Linked DNA regions of Homo sapiens: regions 1 and 2 are each linked to region 3. The links are contacts of gene promoters, found by promoter capture Hi-C in blood cells and fetal thymus (Javierre and others, 2016). All regions are on one chromosome and are shown on one strand. The core of a region is centred on a gene start or on the middle of the fragment in contact, and the rest is flanking DNA. Distances in the headings are between cores, read along the strand shown. Region 1 overlaps PALLD (palladin, cytoskeletal associated protein). Region 2 overlaps PALLD (palladin, cytoskeletal associated protein). Region 3 holds the start of DDX60 (DExD/H-box helicase 60).

Region 1 (4,140 bases), core at 1,192-3,691, 270 kb after region 3:
TTTGACTTCTCCCTTTTGTGATCTGAATCCCTTTTATTCCTTTTTCTTGCCTAATTGCTCTGGCTAGGACCTCCTGTACTATGTTGAATTTCTGATCTTAGAGGAAAAGCTTTCATTTCTTCGCTGTTTATGATGTTAGCTATGGGCTTGTCATATATGCCTTTAGTATATTGAGGAACATTTCTTTGATACCTATCTCGTTGAGAATTCTTATGAAAGGAGTTAATTTTGTCAAATGTTCTTTCTGCATCTATGGAGATGATCAGATAATATTTATCCCTCATCCTGTTAATGTGGTATGTCACATTTATTGATTTGCATATGTTGAATTATTCTTGCATCACAGGGAGAAATCTCACTTGATCCTGATGTATGATCCTTTTAATATGCTATGAATTTGGTTTGCTGGTATTTTGTTGTGGGAAAATATAATGTTATATGCATAGTTGCCTCCAACCTAAGCCAGTGCCTGATAAATGAAAGGCTTTGCACTCTTAATTGAACAAATTCCTTGGTTCCAGTACTTTACTGTTCATTGAAAGCCAGGAAGTACTGGGACAAAGAAATTATTAGAGTTGATAATAAAAGAGTAAACAGCATACTCATTATTAGCAGCGTACTTTCTCATTTTCCCTCCCTGATAGGACTTTAACTCTCTTCTATATATTTCAGCCCTAATGTACTTATCATATAGTCTTTAGGAACAAGAGAAAAGACCAAGTAGAATATGTACAAAACTAAAATAAATACAGAGACATTTCTTTTTGTTTTATTAGGAAAAGTTAGGAGGATGAGAAACAGTGAAATCTAAGATATTGTTCCTACAATATTTTGCTATGTGTATGGTATGGATGAATAAAGTGAAATATCCTTTATAATTATCTAAAAAGTATGTGAAAGTGAATAGATGATGCTGAAACTAAAAAATTTTATTCTAGATCAGTGCTTCTCAAACATTAATGTGCATACGAATCACCTGAGGAGTTTTCCAAGCACATTTCGATTCAGCAGGTCTGGGCTGGAGACTGAGATTCCACAATCACAAAGAGCTCCCAGGGAGTACTGATACTGCTGGTCTGCATATCACACTTGGAGTAGAAAGGTTCTAGATTACATAGACCGTCATCTTCATGCACCAGACTTATTTCCTAGTCTGGGTTCCTCTGGAAATATTTCCAGTGCACCAATCAGTTTGATGGAGTTGGATAAAGAGGGAGACTCAAGATTTACTTCACTTGAAAAGAATATTTATTTTCCATTTAAGGCTAATGGACTAATGGACTAAATATTACACATCTCAGCCCTTGGGATATCTGTGATAATATTTTTCTTTTCCTACCAATGTGCTTTTACTCTATACTTCTGCTCTGCTGGGTGGCCAATGGGACCTTGTCTGTTTACCAAGCCTAGTTCTCAGGTCTACTTTCCTTCGATATCTTTTCTTTCTTCCAACCTTCCAATCCAAACTGAGGTGGTGGTATTCCCCACCACCAAGAAAGGCATAGTTTCCATTTTTTCTCTACCAGTTCTAGTACATGCAATTAAATTTTCTGAGCCCAAAATTTCTCATCTCTGAAATAAGGAGCATGAAACTCTGTGCGTGGGTGCATATGAAGCTAATGAAATGGCACATAAAGTGTCTAACACAAAGAAGGAACCAAATAAATATCAGATTCTATCCCTATCCCACTTTTATTTTGTCCCATTCCAATGTGGCTTTGCATAATTGGAAATCATTATGTATAGACATCAGGTAAAATCTAGCACCAGCTTATATAGTACTCTAAGACCATCAGGTTTTTTTTTTTTTTACCTCGTCTTCAGTTTTAATTTAAAGCAATTAAAATTAATATATTCAGATTTCAACAAAGTGTAAGCATCCCTCTGCTGAACCACTGTATCATTACAGTGTGCGTTAAGAATGCCAATAGGCATGGAACAGATGCCAGATAACCAAGATGGTACTTTTACTGGGTCTGGCATTAAACAAAGAAATGTGTTCATAAGTCATCTTTCTTGGATCTCAACCAAAAATTGTTATTTTGGATTTTGTCATCTTTCCATTTAAATTTCTACTTAATCCTTCATTAGAGTATGTGTTAACAATCTTAATTTGTGTGATTGCCTTCATGAAAAGTTGGATATATAAAATAAATGTCACTTTTAAGGCATCTAAGGAATTGTTTTCTATCTTAGTCACCAAGTATGTCAGACACATTGCTTACAATGTCTTCTATTTCAATCTGTGGTTTGTTTCTGCCATCCAAAAATGAGTAAACTTTAGTTTCACCCAGCCGTGTTTCTGAATATGAACATTCAAATGTGGACCATGTGTGATGGAAAATCCTGCCATGGCTGAGAATATGGATAAACTTGAGGGGGACTGTTTGATGGAAAGTCATTATATAATGTATATTTTCTTTCATTCATTTAACAAACATTTATTCTAGGCCAATGGTGAGCAAAATATTCCCTCAACAAAGTACCCATGCACACACACATGAAGAAACTACACATTTATTTGGAATGTCTAGTAGAGTTCCCCCCTTTCTTGGCTATTTTACACCAGTTCCCATATAACTGGTTTATATAATAATAGTTATTTATGATAAAAATTTGACTAATTCTAACTGACAAGAAGATAGATATGTTTGTTTTGGAAACTATTTCTATTTGGTAATAGATTCCAAATGTATTGAATGGTCTCTAAAAGATGTAGGAACACAGGACATACTGCTCATGATGTACAACAAAAACAATAGTTTCAAAATTTTATGACATATTGCAGTTTATCAAGTGGTTTTATAACCATTATCTTGTTTAATTCTCACAACATCCTTATGAGTAGTGTGTGTGTGTGACCATGAGAATATATGAGTGTGAGTGTGTGTGTGTGTGTGTGTGTGTCCGTGTAGGAGAGGAAATGATTAACCCATTTCATAGATGAGGTGTAACCCATTTCATAGATGAGGTGTAACTAACAATGTAGCTTCAATTATACTGGCAGGTCACAGAAAAGAGATTTGCAACCAGCCTTATGCCTCTCCTCCCACCTCTCTCTACTGACCCACATCTTTTTATGAAGTAGGGATTGCAGCCATCCCACAGCTCATCAATGCTGTCATGTCTATGCACGAAGGCACTCTTAGATAGAAGAGAAAACAGAGGGGGGCCTGGGATCCAGTCCCCAGCGCAGGCACTGAGTGTGCCCCTGGCCCCATCAGTTTAATTCTGAGCGCTCAGGACAGTATGAGGAGCAGCCTGTCGTTTTCGGAGACACCAGCTGAGGGAGCCTGTGGACACAATACCAGTTGAAAAGCTCCCCAGCCCAGGGTGGAACCAAGCAGCCCACGCCTGCTCTTAGGAGCCAAGTTTCCCAAACAATGTCAGAGTTAGCTTGGGGAATCTTCTTAGTACTCTTAAGAGGCCAGAGCTGAGATTTCCACACAATGACATATTAAAGTATTGGATCCAGGGTCCTTTGCATTGGTAGAATGTCAGGAAAATAGCATTAGCTAGATAAACTTCTTTCCCTCAAACCAAATACAGTCGTATTGTTTACTATTATAGGTCTATTAAGGTTGCTGTTTAAATGTTACCAATGTCCTCATATTTTGGTAATTTTGTTCGAGTTGGAAAGAAATGTCTTGAGAAATTTTTATTTAGCCAGAGTGTTTGAGCACTTTAAGATATCTTTAGTATACTACATCGCTTCTCCAGGTCCTCAAGAGACCTAAAAAAAAAAAAAAAAAAAAAAAAAGGCTTTCTAAGCAGTGCCTATCAAGCTACTACTTCCGGCCCCACAAAAAAGAAAAGCTGAGACTCTTCACCCCTTGATTCCAGTATTCCCAAACTCCTGGTAAACCATTAGGAATTAGATATGCCCCAAATTTATGTAGCAACTCCCTTCTTAAGAATATAGAGAACGTTTTTTTTTACACACCTTGTTACACCTCACAATTGAGCCTCAACTTGAGATTCCCTTGCCCAGCAAAGTCCAGAATTCACCACTGTCTACATGCTGGACCCAATTCGTTTTGCTGTCGTTGATCACTAATTTGGGAATTGTGGGAGGGAGAGGAGGAGCGAATCCCTCTCTTTACTTTAGAACTGGTAAAACTGAGATAGCCAGAGATTTCT
Region 2 (4,405 bases), core at 790-3,289, 290 kb after region 3:
GAGGTCCTTGAAGACTTATTCTATGACCAAATAGTAATGAAAAATTCTGCAGGCTACATTTCACTTCTGGCATTTGTCTGTTTTGAAGTTTTGCCTTTCTGGTACCATTTTAATGCTCAACTACCTGGAATCTGGGCTGATACTGCTCACGGATTTTTCTTCTTTCTGGTAGTACATGTTTCTCACCAGCAGTCTTAAAGCCTGCTTGATTCTCTGTCCTACTGAAAGAGCTCAGAGGATGCAGTTCCATTAATGAGTCAGATTCATCAGTGTAAAGATGTCCAACAGGCCAGGCGCCATGGCTCATGCCTGTAATCCCAACATTTTGGGAGGCTGAGGTGGGTGGATTGCTTGAGCTCAGGAGTTCAAGACCAGCCTGGGCAACATGGCAAAACCCCATCTCAACAAAAAGTACAAATATTAGCCAGGTGTGGTGGTACATGCCTATAGTCCCAGCTACTTGGGAAGCTGAAGTGGGAGGACCACTTGAGCCCGAGAGGTTGAGGCTGCAGTGAGCCAGGATCGTGCCACTGCACTCCAGCCTGGGTGACGAAGTGAGACCCTGTCTCAAAAATAAAAATAAAAATGTCCACCACAGACCTCTTCTAAGTTTCCTAAAATGCCTACTTTTAAGAAATTCAGTGTCCTTGAAATCTAGGTTTACAAAAAAAAAAAAAAAAATGCTCATCTTATAATTTCCAAAATCATCTCTTCAACCCCCTTGAAATAGGGAACTGATATATCACATCCCCATGTGGTTCCACCCCCAACCCAGGATTTCTCCCATAGTGATAATTCTGATCCCAGAGACGTCTCCACAGTTTTCTGATTCGTGGATGATCACTACAAGAACCATGAATGCTTGTGTCAAGTTGAGCCCCAACTCCCTTGCTCCAATCTGTCCAGCAGCTGAACAATGGTGAAAGTTTTCCTTGGCTGCATTCTGGGGTAATAATTTTATCTAAGGTACAGCTGTGCATTGTTCTTTAGGTCGAAAATCTGGGACATTTGCCCCCAAACGTAAGGTGAATTAAACCAGACTGCCTTGCAACTGCCTCAAAGTCTGTCTCAACACAGTGACTCATCCAAGAGAAACAGAGATGTGTCACCAAAAATATCTATAAATTTTTTTCCTGTTTTACTAGAAACTCCTTAGGGATAGAGTCGAGGGACTCATGCTGTGCTTAGAGCTAAACTTCCTGAAAATCTTCTCCCAGGGTCCTGGAGGCAAAAAGGGCAGTGCAGAATGCTCCTTAGAAGGGAGTGTGGAGGAAAATGCATGCTTATATTAGAGAACCCATGTCTCTGAAACCCTGGAATTCAAAGAGCTTTCTGGACTATGCCCTCACTGGATTCGGAACTACCAGGCTTTCATCATCAAGAATCCATCTTGCCAGCATGGGGCTGAAGTTTCTGCTTCCTGAATACCTTTTCCCCCATCAACTTCCTTCAGTAACTAGTGGAGAAAAATGAAAATATTCTGGGAGGTGGCATGACAGAAAAACTGAGTTTCTAATGTCACCCTTTGCAATGCATCACACACATTTAGATATCTCAAATGCCTGTGTCTAGGTGCCTTGTAGAGTGACCAACCATCCTGATTTGCCTCGGACTGAGGGGTTTACTGGGATGCAGGACATTCAGTGCTGAAACCAAGAAAGTCCAGGACAAACCCAAATGAATTGTTCACCCTAGTTTCATGCTCAAGATGAATAGAGACACCAAAATACAACAAAGATAAACATCTTGACTGAGGTGTATGTATTTCTGACAGCCATACCGCATCAAAGAGCATGCACCGTAATTCTTTTCAGAATTCCCCTCACCTACAGACCATCCTCAGCCTCAATCTTTACCTGTCCACATCATCTTCTCCTCATCTTTTGGATATGTGTCAGCACTCTCTGCAATTAATTGTGTTGCATCCTGTATTCCAGATAACAATGCCAGAAATGGATGCAGATTTTGGTTTTGGCTATAAGGGCTTGGTTGTGAAACATACATATTTATATTGAGAGGAAAGTAGTGGGGAGAAGAATCCTACCTCCTTTGGCTGGTTTGTGCAATGAGCTCAGGACTACACATTTAGATATGAAGTAATTAGAAATAATGAACCTCTGGGATTACCCCAAGACTTCCAGGAGACAGAGTGTGCCCCAAGTCATGCTGGCTACAAAGACTAGAACTCGTTATGGATAAAAATGGGAGAATTCGATTAAACTAATTCACGGGTGTATATCCAAAGAGTATTTAAAAACATGGTAGTGGTGCCACATAAATAATACATAGATCCTACAAAGTCATGCCAACATCGTGAAAAGAAATCTGAGTCGTAGAGCTCCACATCCTGCTGCCCTCCAGACCTAATAGTGTTATTCTTCTGGTTTGTAGCTGGGAATTCATTTAAAGGCTGGAGAATTCGGTTTCGACTGTTCTTTCTCTGCTTAAGTCATGTCATAAGTAATGTCCATCAGATGTAACTCTGTGGATGGCGCCTTCACTTTAGCAGAGAATCTCCAGTCTCAGGAAGAAAATGAAAAGTGTATTTTCCTCTTGGCTGGATTCCTGCCTCCTGTCTTTTTTCTCTATCATATTGAGCACTCTACTGGTCTTAATCATTTTTTCTAAAAAGTCCTGGATTGTATTATTTTTTAAAAAGACACTGTGGACTCTGTCACTCATATTTTTAAAATAATAATAGTAATAAATTAAAGGAAGGCCTATGTCAGTGACCATGCTGCGCTAGGGAGACCCTTGTGCCCAAAACAACAGCTCCCAGCTCAAGAGAGGGAGAGAGCAGCCACACTGGCTGGCCTAGTCAATGTTTTTTTGCCAAAGATTTCTTTGTATCTGGAAATTGCTCTTATGTGTATCATACATGTTTGAAATAGCTTTCTCCAATTTGAAAAACCATAAAGCAGCAATAAACAAATGGGACTCTGATTAAAAAAAAATACTTTGTAAGTATCATGCATACTTTTACAAGTGTTTATTAGATGGTATCATTTTGCCTTTGCTTTTGCATAGTGGACTCTCAGTGCTCATGTAAACTTCCAGATGTAGTTAGGTCCCTAGACCATCCACTAACTTGGGTATATTTTTCTCTATTAACTATTTAAAAAAAAATCACAGGAAAAGAACCTAATGCTGAAAAGGCAGCCAAAAGTACAATGAAATGAAATCAATCCTAATAACAAAGACTTCTCTTCTTTCCAAAAGCATGCGTTCCTCCCCAGTCCTGCACGGTAAACCACATCAGTGTGGGATGGTAACATTTCAGTAAGTTATTTGAATATCCCAAGACTAAGACCATGAATAAAAAGCAACAGCAGCAAGATTGCCAATAGGCTGTGGGTATTTAAAACACAATGGCAGAAGATTCCTCGAATACAAGGGATAGCTAGAGCCAATAAGCCCCAGTGCATGGATATTAGGAGGTTCATTGATTAGGGTTACATGATTAAAGAAATAGGCTAAGGGAATAAACTGCTGTATACAGGGTTTAGCTCATATTTCTTGCAATGCATTTTTTGAGTACTTTTGCCCTCGTTCCTGGGAAAGATGGTAAGTTAAAAAAAAAAAAAACTTTATAAAGCATTACATTAAAAAATTCATACAAAAGGTACTAAGAATAGAAATCACATTCATGCTTCAGTTTCACACACTTTCTGTCCCAAACAGCATATAAATAAATATGATTTTTGTAACAGCTACATTGTGGCATATACCACAAAGGGCTCGGGTATCAGGCAAGGGAAAAACAATTTATCTTCATTACCATCTATCCACACATACTTTGGTAATCATGAAGACATTTCTCCTTACAATTTCACAAGGAAAATAACAGAACTTGGGCTCTGGGTGTCAGTATCTGGCCCGAGTCCATTTAGTGGCAAAAGGAATTCTTAAGTACTGACATTACATTTCAACGGGGCACAAAGAGACAGGATTTACATTCCTTCTTGGATTAGGTTTTGTTTTCATACTCATTCTCTTTAGATAATCAAAAGCATGTGTCCCCACACCTTGCCAGTTCCACCAAGGGATCCTCAGCACCCATCTCAGAGGGGTCTGATGTGACATCTGAAAGGCGATGTTGCTGCCTCCCCAGCCAAGGGGGGTGCTTGTAATTTCTCCTGCATTATCTTTGAGGTATCACTCACCAAAGCAATGAAGGGTAACCATTCCGAATCCCACCAGTGACTCCTTCTGAAAAACCTATCAGTAGGAGCCTTCAGTTTTAAATAATCCCTGCCTTGTAGTCACACAGGGGAAGAATACCCCAGTCAATTTATGAGGTCTTTGCCTTCAAGTTGTAGATGAAAGGAGTTTGTTGCTAGCTGGGAAAGCTTATTTATGACATGATTGTTAAGGAAGGAATGGTAGTGTTCCCATTTTTTTCTTT
Region 3 (4,394 bases), core at 1,073-3,572:
TCACAAAGGGATGAATGAAAGAAAAATAAATATGAATGCTAAATTCTTCATCTTTCACAGCAGGATGTCCAGCAATAGCATCTGAAGACAATATATGAAAAAAAATAATGGTTTATGGAATCAAGAAATTATCCTGCTTTTCTTCTAAGTACTGCACCATCGCATTACCAAAGAGTAGATACAAGAGTGATTCATTTCTAGAAATAATGCAGCTAATAAACACAGAAGGAATGATAGAATTAGAATATCACCATTTTACAACTCCTAATGAATTAACAGATCTTGGTATTTTTAAACGATAGCACAACAAAAATAGAGGCAAGTGTCCACACCATCAGTGAAGTATTGTAGTTCTCCCAGCCAAAAAAAAAAGAAACCCAAAACTTGGGAGGCCAAGGCGGGCAGATCACCTGAGGTCGGGAGTTCGAGACCAGACTGGCCAACATGGTGAAACCCCATCTCTACTAAAAATGCAAACATTAGCTGGGCATGGTGACAGTCACCTGTAATCCCAGCTACTTGGGAGGCTGAGGTAGAAGAATCGCTTGAACCTGGGAGGCAGAGGTTGCAGTGAACTGAGATCAAGCCACTGCATTCCAGCCTGGGCAAAAGAGCAAGACTCCGTCTCAAAAAAAAAAAAAAAAAAAGAAGAAGAAGAAAAAAAAGAAAACCTGAATCTGATCAAAACGCTAGTAGTAATGATTAATTTACAAGAAATTTAGAGGCCAGCAAAATATGTTAAATGACACCACAGGGATTAGGACACATACACACACACACACATAAACACACACCCAACAGGACACACACATACAAAAACAAACAATCATAAGACCACAAATCTTACAAACGAATAAATTAAAAGGGGATGAAAGAAATTGCAAGAACCTTATAAGGCTTATCCTCCAATCACAGTAGTGTCAGAACCATATTCTGATTCAAACAATCTTAAAAAGGAAGAAGAAAAGAAGAAGGGAGGAAGAGAAATGGAAAAGAGAAAAAAGGAGGGAAGAGGAAAGGCGCAAAGGGGAGGTAAAGAGGAAAAAAATGGGGGCAAGGGAAGGGAAAGGAAATCATGGATTCTGTATTGGAACAGAATGGTGGAGCTACTTGATGAAAGGCATCAAGCTCCTGAAACCCTGCCTGGAGAAGAGCTGGTGGGTTAAAATGGCTTCCAGTACCCGGTATAACCCTCTCCCCTTGAGTGTGGACAGGACCTGTGAATTTAATGGCATAGTCTCTTTAATGATTCGGTTATATTATGTAAGACTTCATCATAGTAGACTCGGGAGATTCCCCCAAAGAGGCTTATACCTTCTTTAAAGGTACCCTATACCTTCTTTAACGGTATAAGCCACCTTGTTGTGAGAAGGCCACTGTAGCTAAGATCTCAGGGTGAAATCTAAAGACATGGGAACCCCCAGCCAACAGCCAGCAAGAAAGCAGGTAACCTCAGTCCTTTAGCTGCAAGAAACTGAATTCTTCCAACAACCTGAATGAGCATCCATGGTGTCCCATGAGGCCACAGCTCTGACACCTTGATTTCAGCTCGATGAGATGCTGAACAGAGAACTCACTTTACCCATGCCTGGGCTTCTGATCCACAGCAATTGTAAAATAATAAACTTGTAATGTTTTAAGCCACTATACCTGCCCCTTGACCAGGAATAAATTAAGTTACTGGAGTAGGAAATAAATTTCTATTGTCTTAAGCCACTGAAATTTAAGGGTGCACAGAAATTACCTGGGGGAATCTTATTAATAAACGCAGATTCTGATTCTACAAGTCTGGAGCAGGGATTGAAGGTGGAAGCTTCTTGCTGCTGTCAATGTACAGGTTTTACTGGCTGTGCTTAGATATGATGTCCCTTAATTTCTCCTCAACCTCCATTACCCAGCTCCCACCTTTGACGGGGACTCCTTAAATGCCTAACTAAGCACTCCTCTCTGTCTCAGACTTCAGGCCTTTCGCGGTTGTCCCTTTCCTCCGCCCCTCCCCACGCCCGGCCTTCCGGGCCAGCAGGGGGCCCGTGCGCCACGGCCTTGCGATCCCAGGAGGTTCCCCAGATTCCCGCGCCCCGAGCCCAGCACTCCTGGGCCACCTCCCTGTCCGGTCCGTTGAAGAAGACCTAGAACTCCCGCTAGACAGCTCCGCCCCAGGCTCTTCCCAAGGGACATCCCCGGCTCCTCACCGCGGACTCAGGACCGGTGGTGTCCAAAGACCCGCGAGCTGCGCGCCCCGCGGGGAGGGAGTGAAACAGAGACCTAGCGCAGAGCCCAGGTGGAAGTTCCAGGTTACCCCAGACCTGGCCTAGGACTCGGCGCTCTGAGCCACCGCAGCCAGTCTTTTATGCATCCGGCGGGAGTTTCGGTTTCCTTTCTCCTCTCAGAAGCACTTAGGTTTCAGTTTCCCTTCAGCACGAATTAGGCGAGGCACTTTCGTGGAAAGTTTAGCATCCTTCCCTTCAATCAGAATCTTAAGAAGGGGAGCATGGCGAGACGTTAGTTAAAAGGTATGAAGTTACAATAGCTAGGAAGAACCAGTTCTGGTATTCTATTCTGCAGTAGGGTGTGTATAGTTAACAATAATGCATATTTCAAAATAGCTAGAAGAGAGAATTTTGAATATTCTCATCACAAAGAAATAGTAAAGTTTTGAGGTAATAGATGGGCTAATTATCCTGATTTGATCATCACACAATGTATACATGTATTGAAACGTCACATTGTACCCCAAAAATATATACAATTATTATGCGTCAATTAAAAATAAAATGAAACTAAAAAAAACCTTAAAAGAGAGAGACAAAGGCAATAAAAATGGGCTTTGGAATTTGGGCATAAATATAGAGTAAATTGAGGCAGAAAAATTTGTAACATCTAAACAAGATAAAATCAAGAAGAGTTAGAATTTAGAAATTGATAAAATGTAAAAGACACTGTGGAATCTGAAACCCCACAATGAAATTGGAGATCTTGCTGCTTCTACTTGTATGCAAAAAGAAAAAAGAAAGTATGTAACAATACATGAACTTTGAGTTTCTGTTATGAGAAGCTGATGATTACTGTTCTGTATAAACTGTAATTGGTACTTTCATGGGCCAAGAATCAACATTAAAAAATAAATTGAAAATGCAGAATGGTCACATTTATTTGTGCCTCAAATTGATGAAATGTTCTCTTAATTTTTGCCTGTTGATACTTGCAGTGTGGGTTTCGATACTCATCTCCTTTCCTTTCAGTGCCCTCGTATGCTTGATTTCATTAATGCTATAAATATGCATTCATATATTGGAAATAGAAGAGGGTGTGGAGGAAAGACAGCAGTGAATTTGGGTAATCAGCATGATAAGAAGCCACAGGCTGCTTTGTCTACAAGGAAAGGAAAGAGCCAAGGTCCAGGCACTGCTCCACAGGGAACACAGAACAGAGAGAGTAGTGAATGATACTTTGTCTTGTGAAAAATTAGAGAGTCAAGTTGTTAAAAGAGGGGGATATGGGGAAGGAGGACATTTCTCACATCCATCAGACAATTACTTGTTTATTCATTTGTTTAGAAATTCACGTGTTTGTTAGTGATGAGATTAAGAAAGAAAATAAAAGACTCTAGAATTTAACACATGATTGGTCTTAAATCAGCCAATATTCCTGTCTCCTTCACTGTGATCTCTGATGTACCTGCCTGGGGTAGGCTGAATAATACCCTGCACTCCTCCCTCCAAAAGAGGCCAAAATCCTAATTCCTGGAACCTATGAATACAGTAACTTTCATAGCAAAAGTAACTTTGCAAAATAGATTAAATAAGAATCTTTAGAAGAGGAGATTACCCCTTACCCGGGATTATCCAGGTGGGCCCAAGGTCATCAGAAGGGCCTTTATAAGAGGGAGACAGGAGTTCGAGGGGCAATGTGATGATAGAAACAGTCAGTGACAGAATGTGGGGACACTACACAGATGGCGTTGAAGACAGTGGAAGGGACCACGGGCCAAGGAGTCTGGTGGTCTCTAGAAACTACCAAAGGCAAGGAAACATTTTTTTTTTCTAGAGCCTCCAGAAATCAGCCCTGATAACACCTTGACTTCAGCCCAGAGAGACTGATTTTGAACCTCTGAGCTCAGAACTGTAAGAGAACAAACTTGTGTGGTATTAAGCCACTAAATTTGTGGTAATTTGTTACAGCAGCCATAGAGAACTAATACAATATTGCAAACTGTATTGTAGGAAATGAATAACATATTTGCAAACAGCAGAAATAATGGATTGTGTTATAACAAGAGGTAGAATTAATTCAGACAGCTACTATGTGCTAAGCAATATGCTAATACCATATCAATGATCACAGCAAGTTCATGAGGTGTGTACTATGATTTCTGTCATTCTGTAGATAAGAAA

The links. Contacts are between HindIII fragments. The CHiCAGO score rates a contact against its expected background, and 5 or more counts as called.
Region 1: a fragment that was not itself captured here is called in contact with the fragment with the promoter of DDX60 in region 3 in 1 of 17 cell types (neutrophils); the score reaches 5.0 in neutrophils.
Region 2: a fragment that was not itself captured here is called in contact with the fragment with the promoter of DDX60 in region 3 in 1 of 17 cell types (neutrophils); the score reaches 6.0 in neutrophils.

What each region holds. Positions count from the first base shown.
Region 1 is chr4:168,582,419-168,586,558 of GRCh38, forward strand. All of the region lies in intron 2 of PALLD (palladin, cytoskeletal associated protein), which reads left to right. All of the region lies in intron 1 of LOC124900807 (a long non-coding RNA gene), which reads right to left. Among named protein-coding and RNA genes, the nearest start is that of PALLD-AS1, 64 kb to the right of the region's middle. The HindIII fragment of the contact is 4,669 bases long and covers 108-4,140 here.
Region 2 is chr4:168,611,591-168,615,995 of GRCh38, forward strand. All of the region lies in intron 2 of PALLD (palladin, cytoskeletal associated protein), which reads left to right. All of the region lies in intron 1 of LOC124900807 (a long non-coding RNA gene), which reads right to left. Among named protein-coding and RNA genes, the nearest start is that of PALLD-AS1, 35 kb to the right of the region's middle. The HindIII fragment of the contact is 4,616 bases long and covers 1-4,347 here.
Region 3 is chr4:168,316,430-168,320,823 of GRCh38, forward strand. DDX60 (DExD/H-box helicase 60) reads right to left here and starts at 2,323. Exons shown (of 38, transcript NM_017631.6): 1 at 2,193-2,323. RefSeq lists an enhancer at 2,257-2,586. The HindIII fragment of the contact is 2,588 bases long and covers 1,812-4,394 here.